4 separate regions of the Homo sapiens genome follow, and all the other regions are linked to region 4. Evidence: promoter capture Hi-C in 16 types of primary human blood cells and fetal thymus (Javierre and others, 2016). All regions are on one chromosome and are shown on one strand. The core of a region is centred on a gene start or on the middle of the fragment in contact, and the rest is flanking DNA. Distances in the headings are between cores, read along the strand shown.

What was found. The method cuts DNA at HindIII sites, captures the fragments that hold promoters and counts their contacts. A CHiCAGO score of 5 or more calls a contact.
Region 1: the fragment with the promoter of BTBD18 here is called in contact with the fragment with the promoter of PATL1 in region 4 in 1 of 17 cell types (fetal thymus); the score reaches 6.0 in fetal thymus.
Region 2: a fragment that was not itself captured here is called in contact with the fragment with the promoter of PATL1 in region 4 in 5 of 17 cell types (naive CD8 T cells, total CD8 T cells, total CD4 T cells and 2 more); the score reaches 9.0 in naive CD8 T cells.
Region 3: a contact is called between a fragment that was not itself captured here and the fragment with the promoter of PATL1 in region 4, in 1 of 17 cell types (activated CD4 T cells). The highest score is 5.3, in activated CD4 T cells.

Annotation. Positions count from the first base shown.
Region 1 is chr11:57,750,028-57,753,147 of GRCh38, forward strand. BTBD18 (BTB domain containing 18) reads right to left here and starts at 1,792. Exons shown (of 3, transcript NM_001145101.3): 1 at 1,514-1,792; 2 at 1,038-1,209. The coding sequence starts at 1,161. All of the region lies in intron 2 of TMX2-CTNND1 (TMX2-CTNND1 readthrough (NMD candidate)), which reads left to right. The HindIII fragment of the contact is 11,151 bases long and covers 1-2,574 here.
Region 2 is chr11:58,563,931-58,567,233 of GRCh38, forward strand. It overlaps LPXN (leupaxin), which reads right to left. Exons shown (of 9, transcript NM_004811.3): 3 at 225-271. Among named protein-coding and RNA genes, the nearest start is that of LPXN, 10 kb to the right of the region's middle. The HindIII fragment of the contact is 2,012 bases long and covers 797-2,808 here.
Region 3 is chr11:57,705,821-57,709,067 of GRCh38, forward strand. All of the region lies in intron 1 of MED19 (mediator complex subunit 19), which reads right to left. Among named protein-coding and RNA genes, the nearest start is that of MED19, 4.8 kb to the right of the region's middle. The HindIII fragment of the contact is 6,726 bases long and covers 1-3,247 here.
Region 4 is chr11:59,667,596-59,670,496 of GRCh38, forward strand. It overlaps PATL1 (PAT1 homolog 1, processing body mRNA decay factor), which reads right to left and starts at 1,442. Exons shown (of 19, transcript NM_152716.3): 1 at 1,286-1,442. The coding sequence starts at 1,300. PATL1-DT (PATL1 divergent transcript) reads left to right here and starts at 1,715. Exons shown (of 4, transcript NR_187296.1): 1 at 1,715-1,947. RefSeq lists a silencer at 1,172-1,521 and enhancers at 1,481-1,775, 1,702-1,991. The HindIII fragment of the contact is 2,400 bases long and covers 1-2,222 here.

The DNA of each region.
Region 1 (3,120 bases), core at 542-3,041, 1.9 Mb before region 4:
CCTATACATTTTTAGTTCTAGCAACAAACAACAAAAGTCATCAATTTGAAGATTAAATAAATTAAGCAGGCCGGGCAACGTGGCTCACGCCTGTAATCCCAGCACTTTGGGAGGCTGAGGCAGGTGAATCATGAGGTCAGGAGTTCGAGACCAGTCTGGCCAACATAGTGAAACCCCATCTCTACTAAAAATACAAAAAATTTTCCGGGTGTGGTGGCACGCACCTGTAGTCCCAGCTACTCGGGAGGCTGAGGCGGCAGAATCGCTTGAACGCGGGAGGTGGAGGTTGCAGTGAGCTGAGACCGTGCCATTGCACTCCAGCCTGGGAGACAGAGAGAGACTCTGTCTCAAAAACAAAACAACAACAAAAAAGAAAATGGGAAAAGGGTCGGACGTGGTGGCTCACGCCTATAATCCCAGCACTTTGGCAAGCCCAGGCGGGTGGATCACTTGAGGCCAGGAGTTTGAGACCAGCCTGGCCATCATGGCAAAACCTCATCTCTACTAAAAATACAAAAGTTAGCTGGGCGTAGTGGCGCATGCCTGTAATCTCAGCTACTTGAGAAAGCTAAGGCATGAGAATCACTTGAACCCAGGAGGTGGAGGTTGCAGGTAGCTGTGATTGTGCCACCACACTCCTGCCTGGGCAAGAGAGTGAGACTCTCAAAAAGAAAACATAATAGTATCATCTAACACATATTGTGGTTAGTATATTAAAAGCACTATTCTAAGTGCTTACCCACATTAACTCTTAATCTTCACAACCATCCCATTGGAATATTATCCATGTTATATAGAATGTATCTGCTTATAAAACTTTACAATTAGATTCATTATTTAAGAGAAAGAAGCAAAGTCACAATTTCACTCTTGAAAACAGTAGTAATTGTCCTAGAAACAAACAGCCCTTTACCAAATAGTTTACAGTGGTCATAGGCAGTAATATTTTGCTGATTTTGTCCTTTACCCTCTGGCTCTGAACTCATTTTATCTTATTCTATGGTGAGTTTTCAGTTGAATTCCGACCACTCTCTTACCTTCTGCCTGCAGAAGGACATCACAGAACACATCACTCTGCTGCTGGTGATGAAGCTGCAGAAAAGCTAACCTGAGGAACCGGGGGTTCCTGTATAGGATTTTGGGACTGGCAGGAGAGCACATGTTGGCAAGAGTCTTAACAAACCTTCTAGGTTTTCACAGATCAGACTCCTGTAGGTGAGATAATACATTTCAGAGGCATGGTTACATCTAATTTGTTTTTTGTCTTTGAAATGGCAGGGGAATTTTGAAAGTGAGAGATAATAGTATGAGTTGAGGAAACATCAGCCCAGAAATTGTGCCAAGGATATCTCAAGAAAGAAAATTATCATAGTGGTTACATGTGGGAGCTCAGAGATAAGCCTAGGTTTGGGTCTTGGCTCTATTTATTAGCCTGGCTGTATAATCTCACACAGGTGACCTAACTTCTCTGAGTCTCACTTTCCTATCCATGAAATAGAATAATAGTACTTACCTTGTAGGGTTGTTTTAAAGATTAAATGAGTCAGTGAAGGTAAAGTTGCTTAGCACAGTGAGTGCCTGGCACAAAATAACTACCAAGCCCCAAATGGTAACTATTATTATCCTTCAACCTTCCTCATTTCCATTACCACTGAGACTCAACTGCTACAATGCTGACTACTTATATTCTTCCTGAGCACCACATCCCAGCTCCACAGGTATAATCTTCAAGTTAACACTTTTAAGGAAACATTACTGGGTATAAAATTATCTCTAGTAAGTCGTATGCGCCTTTTCTCTGAGCTCACTGTATCACACTAACCAGCAGAGGGTGCACAATAAAGAAGAGAAGCCTCTGACTCTGCGGGAAGGTCTCTCACAGAACCAAGGACGTTGCCACCCTTGGCTGGGTGTACTTGACCAAAGCGAGCCTGACTGACCCTGGTAGTAGGCAAAGAATTTGGCCTTTACGTTTGTATAGTTAATTACCAGGCTAACAATGCAGCAAGGATAGTAAAGCATTTTACCCCTCCCAAAACAAACTGAGTATTCTGACTTCAGGCTTATGTCCAGCTTTTTAGCTCCGAAACCCCCCCACTCACTGCACAGCTGTGTTCCTTTCCTGGAATGCAGTTTTCTATCAGGTAGCACTGAGGGTCCGAACAGTTCACGTCAAAACTATCAGGAAAGAAGAATGAAAAGGTAAATTAAGAGAAGGCGGGCTTGGCTGGGCGGGGTGGCTCACGCCTGTAATCCCAGCACTTTGGGAGGCCGAGGCGGGTGGATCACCTGAGGTTAGGAGTTTGAGACCAGCCTGGCCAACATGGTGACTCCCCGTCTCTACAAAAATACGAAAATTAGCCGGGCATGGTGGCAGGCGCCTGTAATCTCAGCTACTCAGGAGGCTGAGGTGGGAGAATCGCTTGAACCTGGGAGGCAGAGGTTGTAGATAGAGCCACTGCACTCCAGCCTGGGCGACAGAGCGAGACTCCGTCTCAAAAAAAAAAAAAAAATTCCCATCCCAGTGAGAGAGATGTGGATGGAGGATGGCAGCTGTTGCAAGGGCCCTGGGGAAGCTTCTCAATCCACGATCGCCTGGCCTTGCCTCCAGACCCAACTTGAAATAGCTTTTCGGTAGACTTTGCTCCTGTTGCCTTCTCTGTGCTTGTCCTCTGTCCAGCCTGCCTTGCTTCCTCTCAATGTTCAGCGTTGAGTCAGGAGGCTGAGCAAAGATGCGCAGGTGGGCCAACGGCTGAGTGCTTCACCTCCCCATCCAGAAGCAAGGGAATCGGTGTTGGCGGAGAAAGCAGGGCTTCAGGGAGAGCCCTGCAAAGCGGGGTGGCCCGCACGCTTGGGCGCCCTGGCCCAACTCCTTTGAAGAAAGACTCCTAGGCGCGAGGGTTTCTGGGAATGGACCGTGGGGATCCGGGAGGCCCAAAGTCAGGACTTCCCGTCACGGCCACCTCCGCCAGCATAGACTTTGCAGGCAGCCCCTGGCGCCCTTGTATCCCTGCGGGCTTCAGCACCCACATGCACTGGGTGGTAGTGATAGCGAGGGTTGTAAGGCCACGCGGCCAGCGCCACACACCTCGTGCCACCGTCCTAGCGCGCTGCGCGTCG
Region 2 (3,303 bases), core at 553-3,052, 1.1 Mb before region 4:
AGGGCCCACTAGCCTAGACAACCCTTCCAGAAGCCAGGCACCTTGAGAAGTTGTCAAGTCAGCTTCACAGAATTCTACCTATGCTCAAAGACTATGGAAAGAGGAGGATGATATACGAGTTCTAATAATAAACACTTGCAAAGCAAATTATCACCCAAACAAAGATTGATAACAATTATCTACTAACTTTAATTTTTAAAAGCATTTAATAGAAAAAAAAATACCTGTAGACATTGAGCTCCTGGATATTGGTAGTATACACGAGCTGCGCCTAAGATATATAAGTGACAAGAGAAGAGCAAAGAATAAATTTTTGTTATCAGAATGTTGAGGCTTAATGATACCCACAGTTAATAGATGTTTGTAGCTTTTAAAGGGGACTGACAAGTGGCATATCTATGAGCTCTTCTTTCACAAGCCAGAGGAATTACCAGCCATCCCACAAAGAAAAGCCAAATTCTAAACAGAGTAGTTGGCATGTGAACAAACACTAGCAGCCCCTCCTTGCCTAAAAACCACCCAAATAGAGAAGTTGATCCTCCTTAGATAAGAACCATAAATCAAATAAAATGGGTCAGAGCTAAGCCCCTTTAACTAAACAGGATGGTGCCTAGGAGGAGACTATAATGTTATTAAACTTGACATATGAAAAGAAATAACATGTGAATCTAAAAGATGGTTGGCTGGCAATTCATTTATTAATTGAACAAATATGTATTGAGGGCCTGTCATGTGCCAGGGCTGAGGATGTAGCAGTCAAAAAGCAAAAAAATCAAATAAAAACTGTAAGCCCTGAAGCTTACATTCTGGTGCTGTGAAACAAATAATAAAGAAATTGGTATGTAAAAGTAATATTCTGCATAGAGGATGGGAAGTGGGGAGAGACAGCAATTATAAATATACTGATCAGGGAAGGACTCACTGAGAAGAGAACGCTTGAGCAAGGACTTATATAGGAGGTGGGGAAAGAAAGCAAATATCTGGGGTCATATGATTCAGGTGGAAAGGCCAGCAGGAAAACCACCTGGAGCATCTGTGGAACCACGAGAAGGAGAGTGTGGCCTGAGCAGAGTGAACCAAGGACACAGGGACAGCAAGTAAAGGGGCCAGATCATACAGATGAGGTGGCCACATCACCAAACGTTCAGAATGGGGTATTTTTTAGAAAGAAAATGGGTTCCAAAAATAAGTCATATTGTATCATTTTTAAAATATGTGTTTATTGGCCAGGCATGGTGGCTCATGCCCGTAATCCCAGTACTTTGGGCAGCCGAGGCAGACGGGTCACGAGCTTGTATCATTTTTAAAATATGTGTTTATTGGACGGGCGTGGTGGCTCACGCCCGTAATCCCAGTACTTTGGGTGGCTGAGGCAGGCGGATCACGAGGTCAGGAGATCGAGATCATCACGGCTAACATGGTGAAACCCCATCTCTACTAAAACTATAAAAATTTAGCTGGGAGTGGTGTTGCGTGCCTGTAATCCCAGCTACTCAGGAGGCTGAGGCTTGGAGAATTGCTTGAACCCGGGAGGCAGAGATTGCAGTGAGCTGAGATCATGCCACTGCACTCCAGCCTGGGTGACAGAGCGAGACTCGGTCTCAAAAAAAAAAAAAATGTGTTTATTGACCTGAATTTGGTCTTATTATATTGGTGGACCTATAAGATAATTCTATCCAAAATTTATTTTCAAAATAAAAATTTCCTGAAATATCTTAAAGTGATAGTGATACAAAGTTATGAACATTCAAGCAACTTTAAAAAAATATTGGCCAGGCACAGTGGCTAACGCCTATCATCCCAGCACTTTGGGAGGCTGAGGCACGTGCATCATTTGAGGTCAGGAGAATTTGAGACCAGCCTGGTGTCATGTGACCAGACATGGTGAAACCCTGTCTCTACTAAAAATACAAAAAAATTTGCCAGGTATGGTGGTGGGTGCCTGTAGTCCCAGCTACTCGGGAGGCTGAGACAGGAGAATTGCTTGAACCCAGGAGGCGGAGGTTGCAGCGAGCCAAGATCATGCCACTGAACTCCAGCCTGGGCAACAGAGTGACACTCTGTCTCAACAACAACAAAAAATTGATTATCTGAACATTTTTAATGGTACAGACAATTATTCTTTATATGTATTCACATACCTTAATTGGTTATTTAGATATTATTGTCTCTAGCATTGGGATGTGGACATTTTTCAGGAACATGTGTTTTTTTTCGTTTTTTATTTAAACAGTTATTTTTTTATAAAACTGCAATCTTTTTCAAAACTTCATTTTATGGTTAATATATTTGAAATTATGGACAACTTTAATTGATGCTTCACTATATGTTTTTAACTGAGAACACATTTCCTCTCTAGATACTGATGAACCTGTAAGTTCTGCTAAATGAAGAATCTTCTCATTTTTTAGATTAAAATATGTAAATATTTCAGGCCAATATCGTCATAGGTGCTGTCTTTCTACCTTCATTCAAAGCACTTTTGCTCAATAATTTCTTACAAGATAAAACTTTCAAGTTGTCTATATCTGTGATTGTTTCAACATTTCACCAAATCTAGATACTGCAAAATCATAGACTTTCACAATTTTTCTCCATTTTGGTAGAGAATAAAAATTTATCCAAATAAAATTAGAAGTCAAAATACATCAAAGTCAAGATTTTTCTGAAGCACAATTGTCAAAATAGATAATTAAACCATATCTGCTTTCATCTTTTGATTTGTTCAACTCCTTCTTCGCTTTTGTAGGGAGAAATTTGAGCTTCTTCCTTTGCAAGCCTTATTTTACATAATTGTAACTTGCTAAAAGCTTCAAAAGCTGAATTTTCATGCTACATTCATTCAGTAATCGATTAAAAATTTCCAACTGGTCTTGAACATAATGCAATCTAAATTTGGGTTGCTTTACAAAGTGGTTTTTCAAAGGCTCAGGCATTCCCAAAATCCAATTGATGACATGCAACACAGACAGGAATATACATATAGTCATTCTGAAATGTTTCCTTGCATGGTAGTGTTCAATATCAGCTTCTGTCAGAAAAGTTTTGTAGATCAGTTACTTATAAAATCTGTGTGTGTGTGTGTGTGTGTGTATATATATATTTATAATTTATACATTTTGACAATTTTAGTTTCTGTTTTGACTGACAGAATACCGCAGCTTGTTTGAATGCAGTCACAAATTTTGTGCACATTACAACCAATTCCAAGTACATTTCTGCTTCATAGCTTGTTAACTTGGTAAGAACATTTTTAACACAATGCTGTGCTCTATTAACATTTGTATTCATATTCTTACAACA
Region 3 (3,247 bases), core at 98-2,597, 2.0 Mb before region 4:
TGATTTATATGATGCTTGCTTCGTGGTAAATGCTGTTCTGAGTGTTTCTCATAAAATGTATTAGTGAAAAATTATATTCTCTGACACAGCTAGGAAAATACGACCTTGCAGCTCAGCTACAACCATGCTCAGGGGGCCAAATATGACCCAGTGACTTAAGGGTCTTGTCAAGGACTTTTTTTTTTTTTTACTAGCAAGAAACACTAATCACCTTTACATAAGAAAAGAACTGGGAGATTTTTTTCTAGCTACCACTGCCTAACTTGTTACCAACATCTTTATTCTTCCTCGTGATACTGAGTATGATGCCTTGCCTAAAAGGAATAAATGTTTTTTGTTTTTGAGACGGGAGTTTTGCTCTGTCGCCTAGGCTGGAGTGCAGTGGGGTACGATCTTGGCTCACTGCAACCTCCGCCTCCTAGGTTCAAGTGATTCTCCCACCTCAGCCTCCCAAGTAGCTGGGATCACAGGCACACACCACCATGCCTGGCTAATTTTTTTCTAGTAGAGAAGGGGGTTCACCATGTTGAGTAGGCTGGTCTTGAACTTCTGACCTCAAGTGATCCGCCACCCCCCGCCGCCTCGGTTTTCCAAAGTGCCGGGATTACAGGTGTGAGCCACAGCACGCATCCAGGAAGAAATGTTTGATTAGAAGTCAGTCAACTAATGGCCAGGCGCGGTGGCTCACGCCTGTAATCCCAGCACTTCAGGAGGCCAAGGCGGGCAGCTCATTTGAGGTCAGGAGTTCAAGACCAGCCTGGCCAACATGGTGAAACCCTGTCTCTACTAAAAATACAAAAATTAGCTGGACAGTAGTGGCACACACCTGTAATCCCTGCGAGGCGGAGGTTGCAGTGAGCTGAGATCAGGCCACTGCACTCCAGTTTGGGTGAGAGAGTGAGACCCTGTCTCAAAAAAAACAAAACAAAACAAAACAACAAAAACAAAAAAACAAGTCAGGCAACTAGAATTATTCTGGCTGTCTTCCATGCCTCAGTTTCCTCTTATCTGTGGAATGGAATAATAGCTATCTTACATACACATAATTTTCTCCCAAGGTTCAAATGAAAATATGCTGAAAAGCATAAAGTATCAGGCTTGGCACAGTGGTTCATGCCTGTAATCCCAGCACTTTGGGAGGCCAAGGCAGGCAGATCACCTGAGGTCAGGAGTTTGAGACCAGCCTGGCCAATATGGTGAAACCCCATCTCTACTAAAAATACAAAAATTAGCTGGGTGTGGTGGCATGCGCCTGTAGTCACAGCTACTTGGGAGGCTGAGGCAGAAGAACTGCTTGAACCCGGGAGGTGGAAGTTGCAGTGAGCTGAGTTTGCACCACTGCACTCCAGCCTGGGTGGGAGAGTCAGATTCCATCTCAAAAAAAAAAAAAAAAAAGTATTATATGTATGCAAGGCACTATCCATATAAATATTGCATGGCTGATTCTTTTTTAAAAAATATACATTTATTAGTAACTTAATAAGGACCTACTAGCAAGGGTAGAAATAGCTAACTACAACTTCATTTGTAATTATGATAGACACAGAGGGTACAAATGACAAAAATGGCTTGTTTATAATCATTCACTTGGGAAAACTGAGGTACTGAACTGTAAGCTCCTTGGAGGCACAGACAATGTCTTGTTCATTCATGTATCGCTAGTGCCCAGCACAGTACACACATTAGGTGCTTAATAAATATTTATTAAATAAACAAGGCACTTTCCCTCTATACCTCTAGGCCTTATTCATCCTTTTCCTTCCCTTTACTACCAAACAACTCAGAAGACTGAGCGAGGGTAATGGCAGGAGACCCAATGTCACAGTATCTCTCCTCATAACTCTGGGCACTGCCTCTTGCCATTACAATCTTCTGAATTTCCCCTGCTCTGCCAACTCTCCTCTGTCCAGATGGTTATCCTTAAGGCTCAGGTGAGAAGGCAGTCTGTGCTTTTTCTAAACTGTAACTTGAGAGTTCAAATTCCAGTTTTGACTATTCTACAAAGATTACTTTTTATATTTATTTATTTTTTGAGACAGTCTCGCTCTGTCACCCAGGCTGGAGTGTAATGGCACAATCTTAGCTCACTGCAATCTCTGCATCCTGGGCTCAAACTACTTTCCTGCCTCAGCCTCCCAGGTAGCTGGGACTACATGCATACACTGCCATGCTAGGCTAATTTTTGTATTTTTTGTAGAGACAGGGGTCTCCCTATGTTGCCCAGGCTGGTCTTGAACTCCTGGACTCAAGCTATCTGCCTGCCTCAGCCTCCCAAAGTGCTAGGATTACAGGCGTGAACCACCCTGCCCAACAAGATAAAAAAAAAAAAAATTGTTTTGAAATTCCAAATCTTGCCAACATCACTCAGGGCTTCTCTATTTCAATCCATGGCACCCACATGTTCCAGATATTTTTGGAAATCAGTACTCCTCAGTTCACAAATCTTAATGGTTTCTTTTTGCCCTCAGGAGAAAGCTCAAATTCCTTTGACTGGCACTCAAGGCTAATTACATCTTACTCCAACTTAGCTTTGGGGCCTCATCAACCACTACTCTCCTATGCAAAATTTCTGATCCATCCAAATGGATCTCCTTATCGCCTCAAAAAAACACCCCTCACATTATTTCATCTTAGGAAAATTCTTCCTAATTTTTCTTCACCAATATGGATTATTCAAGGTCTAGCTCAAGTGACATCTTATTCTCACTGTCATTCTGGATAGCAACACACTTTGAAAACCATTAGGTAGTTCTTAATATTGATGGCTAAGATATTGTTAATTGCTGTTGTGAGGCATGAGCACAAAATGAGATGGAGGTGACAGGAAATATAGTCACTATCCTTAAACCACAAATTTTACATTCCTAACTAAACTCCTTGAAAAGCAATGACCAGCATTACTAATCTCTCTCTCCATCTCACCCGCCTCATACACCCAGCATTTGCCCAGAACATATATTCAATATCTGTCAACTGACTGATACAAATAGCTACAATCAGAATAGGGAAGGCAAAAGAAAGATTAAAAGAAACCGCTGGTGGACATCAACCACTAACTAATCAAAGGGATGTCAACTTCTCCATGTTTCAGTTTTTTCAATTATAAAATGTAGACAGTAATGCTACCTCAAAGGGCTATTCTAAGTATTAAATACTACTTATATTAAATACTGCATGTAAGTGTGTTGTGAACTTCAAAGTACTATACCAATATTTGTTGCTATTTCCCTCAAGTCATGATGTGGAA
Region 4 (2,901 bases), core at 192-2,691:
TCTAATTAATTCATCAAATACCTTTTAAGGACCTATTGCGTCTAAGGTTCTGTGCTAGGCTGTAAGGCTCAATGTCTTACATTGTAATGCAGGGACAATACCAACTATGGCAGAGAGTTGTGATGATCAAAGTGGGCAAAGATTACAGATTATCGAACAAAGGCTAGAGGCCACCACATCCTAGGTGTGTTCTATTTTCCCCCTTTACTTCAATCTTACTCAACTGATTTATTCTCCAAGTTTTCCTTTTGGTTTGGTCTTAGATCATTCCTATCAAGTATACCTGTCCTCAATTTTCAAAAATTCAGAATCAGAATTCCATATTCTATCAGTAGGTACGTTTGTGATACACCTTGCCTGGCTACCTCTTAGCTACCCTGTTTACAATGGAAAGATTAGGTCAAAGGGCGTTCTTCTTACCCCAGAGCCCTTCCAAACTCATGCCAATAGGCATGCCACTGCCTCCTTATCAGAGGCAACTTCCAGCAGTACTCCCTTCCAAATCACAAATATCTACTTTACCAAATCGCTGCTTTTTTAAATTAAAAATTCTTAAGGATCATTTACATCAGTTCTTTCATGCTACAAATTCAGAAAGTTTACGTCCAGAGATTAGGAGTCACTCAAGGTCACACAGTGAGTTGGTGACAGGGTCAGTACTGTCTGCTGCTATTGCTACATTCCCGGCACCTTCTCCAAACCCGCGTCTCCCAGCACTAGCCCAGAAGGAACTTCTGCAGGACACGCCCCCCTCCCAACTCGGAGCCCTCTTTAGTAAACGGGCTGGGGCCCTAATCCAACGGCAAGCCCAGGCCCCCTTCACCTGAAGGTAGCCTGTGTGAATGGGATGTGTGTCAGTGTAATTCGAGTGGAGGTGGGTGGGGGGTGGTTCCGGGTCCAGGGCGGGAAACGCGGCTCTGGGAATTCCCGGGTGACACCTACTTAAGAAAAGCACCCGGGGAGATGCAGTGCTCTACCCTCCGTGGCTCCTCTAGGGGTGGGGGCGGGGGTGTGGTCTGGTTACAGCACTTAACGGGCCCTCCCCACCCCAAAACGGAGGCCAACTTTCCCCAGCGGCAACTAATGGGACTGTCTCGACCCATGAAGCCAGCTCCCAGCCCTAGGATTAGACCCGCGACCCCAGACCAGTCGCGTCCAGCTAAGTCCTGCGACTCCCCCAGCCCGCCCCCTGCCCCGCAGGAACACAGGACCGGCGCGCGGAGAGAGAGTGAGGGAGAGGGGCGCGGGAGGGAGGGAGGGGTCACTTCCGGTCGCAACAGCTCACCTCGTAGCGGAACATTCTTGGGGAGGGGGGCAGGGAGCGGGGAGGGGAGAGGGGGAGGGAGGGAAGAAGCGCTGACTCCCCGGCTCCTCCGCGCGCGGGTCCTCCACCGGCTCGCGACCCCTGGCCGCCGCCGTACGCCGGAGCGTGCGTGGGGACGTGCGCAGGCGCGCCTCAGGCAGGGCGGCCACCCCGCTCGGCGCCCGGCGGCGGCGGCTGCGCAGGGACAGATTTGGCGTCCCGCTTCCTAGTCTCAGCGGCGGGAAGGAGGTCCCGTGGCGAGAGACTGCGCACGCGCTGCCCGTCTTCGGCTGCCTGGTGATCTGGGCTTGTAGCTCCGCCCCCTCTTTCTCCGCGCCCTCTAGGCGCTCGGCTTGGAGCTCAGGGGCCGGTCACGAGTTCTCCGTCACCCGTGGGGCGGAGAAAACCCTTGTGATTGTCACAGGATATAGCTTTGAAGAATCCTGCGCTTAGCCTGGGCTGGGAAAGATGAGATTCCCGGGCAGTTTTTCCAACGTCCGACTCACTCCTCAGGCTGCTCGGGGGTCTCCCCGTTGCAATCTGCGCCTTGCGCAGGGAAAAAAGAATGGAAAGTTGCTGGTCTTCGAAAGGGGCGGACTTCGTCGCCACTTTCAGCGGCTCGTCGCCTGCTGAATCCACAGCAGGTCAGGGCTGTGATTTATGTGGCTCAAAGTGATGACGGCGCCCGTTTTTTTTTTTTTTTTTTTTGAAATGCTGAAGACAGGTTCCGGGAGGTTTAACTAGGGTGGTATTTTTAAGCGCCAGGCTCATTAGGCGCGAGGAGCTGCAGAGCCTCGAAGGGCCGCACGGCCGTGGGCCGCTGGCCACGCAGCAGCAGGGTCTTCGGGCCGTGGTGCGCCGCTGGGTGACTCCACTTCCTTAGAGGATCGAACCCACAGAGGAATGTGTCCAGCTTAGAAGCTTCGGCCCCCTGGTTCCAGAATTCTGTTGGGTGGTTTGTTACCTCTAGCACGCTCCATGCCCTTCTTGCCCCTTTCCTTTCAGACAAAACTTGCAGCACAAAGAATGAATTCTTTTGGGTTTCGCAATCCGTTTCTTCCCTGGGCGTCTTAAAATGCAGCCTCGTCTCGGAATGGCATACAGTAAATCCCCTAAATGTTAGTGTGTCTGGATCAGTTTGAGTATCGGAAACGCTGAATTTGTGAAGAAAAGTTCTGGGTGGGAGCTTGTGCTTTGCCACTGGCTAGGAAACTTTGGGCAACTTACCTAAACCTCTCTGAGCCTTAGTTTCTTGTAAAATGGGTATAATTACACCTGCCTCATGATGGTAACACTACTAACGATTGAAGGCTGCCTGGGACTCTGCTAGGCGCTTTATAAAATGGATTATCTCATTGAATCCTTCCTTATGTGCCCCCCATGAGGTAGGTACTGTTATTTTCTCAGTTTACAGTTGAGGAACCTGAGGATTAGCGACATTGTTTGCCTCCAACCACCCAATGGCAAGTGGTAAAGCTAGCAGCTGAGATTTGTCTGATTATTAAAAACCGAGTGTCTTAATCACTGTGCCAGAATAACAAAAGCAAATGTTGACATGGGCCAGGCCTGAACTTTAAAGAAGTGGAGCGTCGGGACAA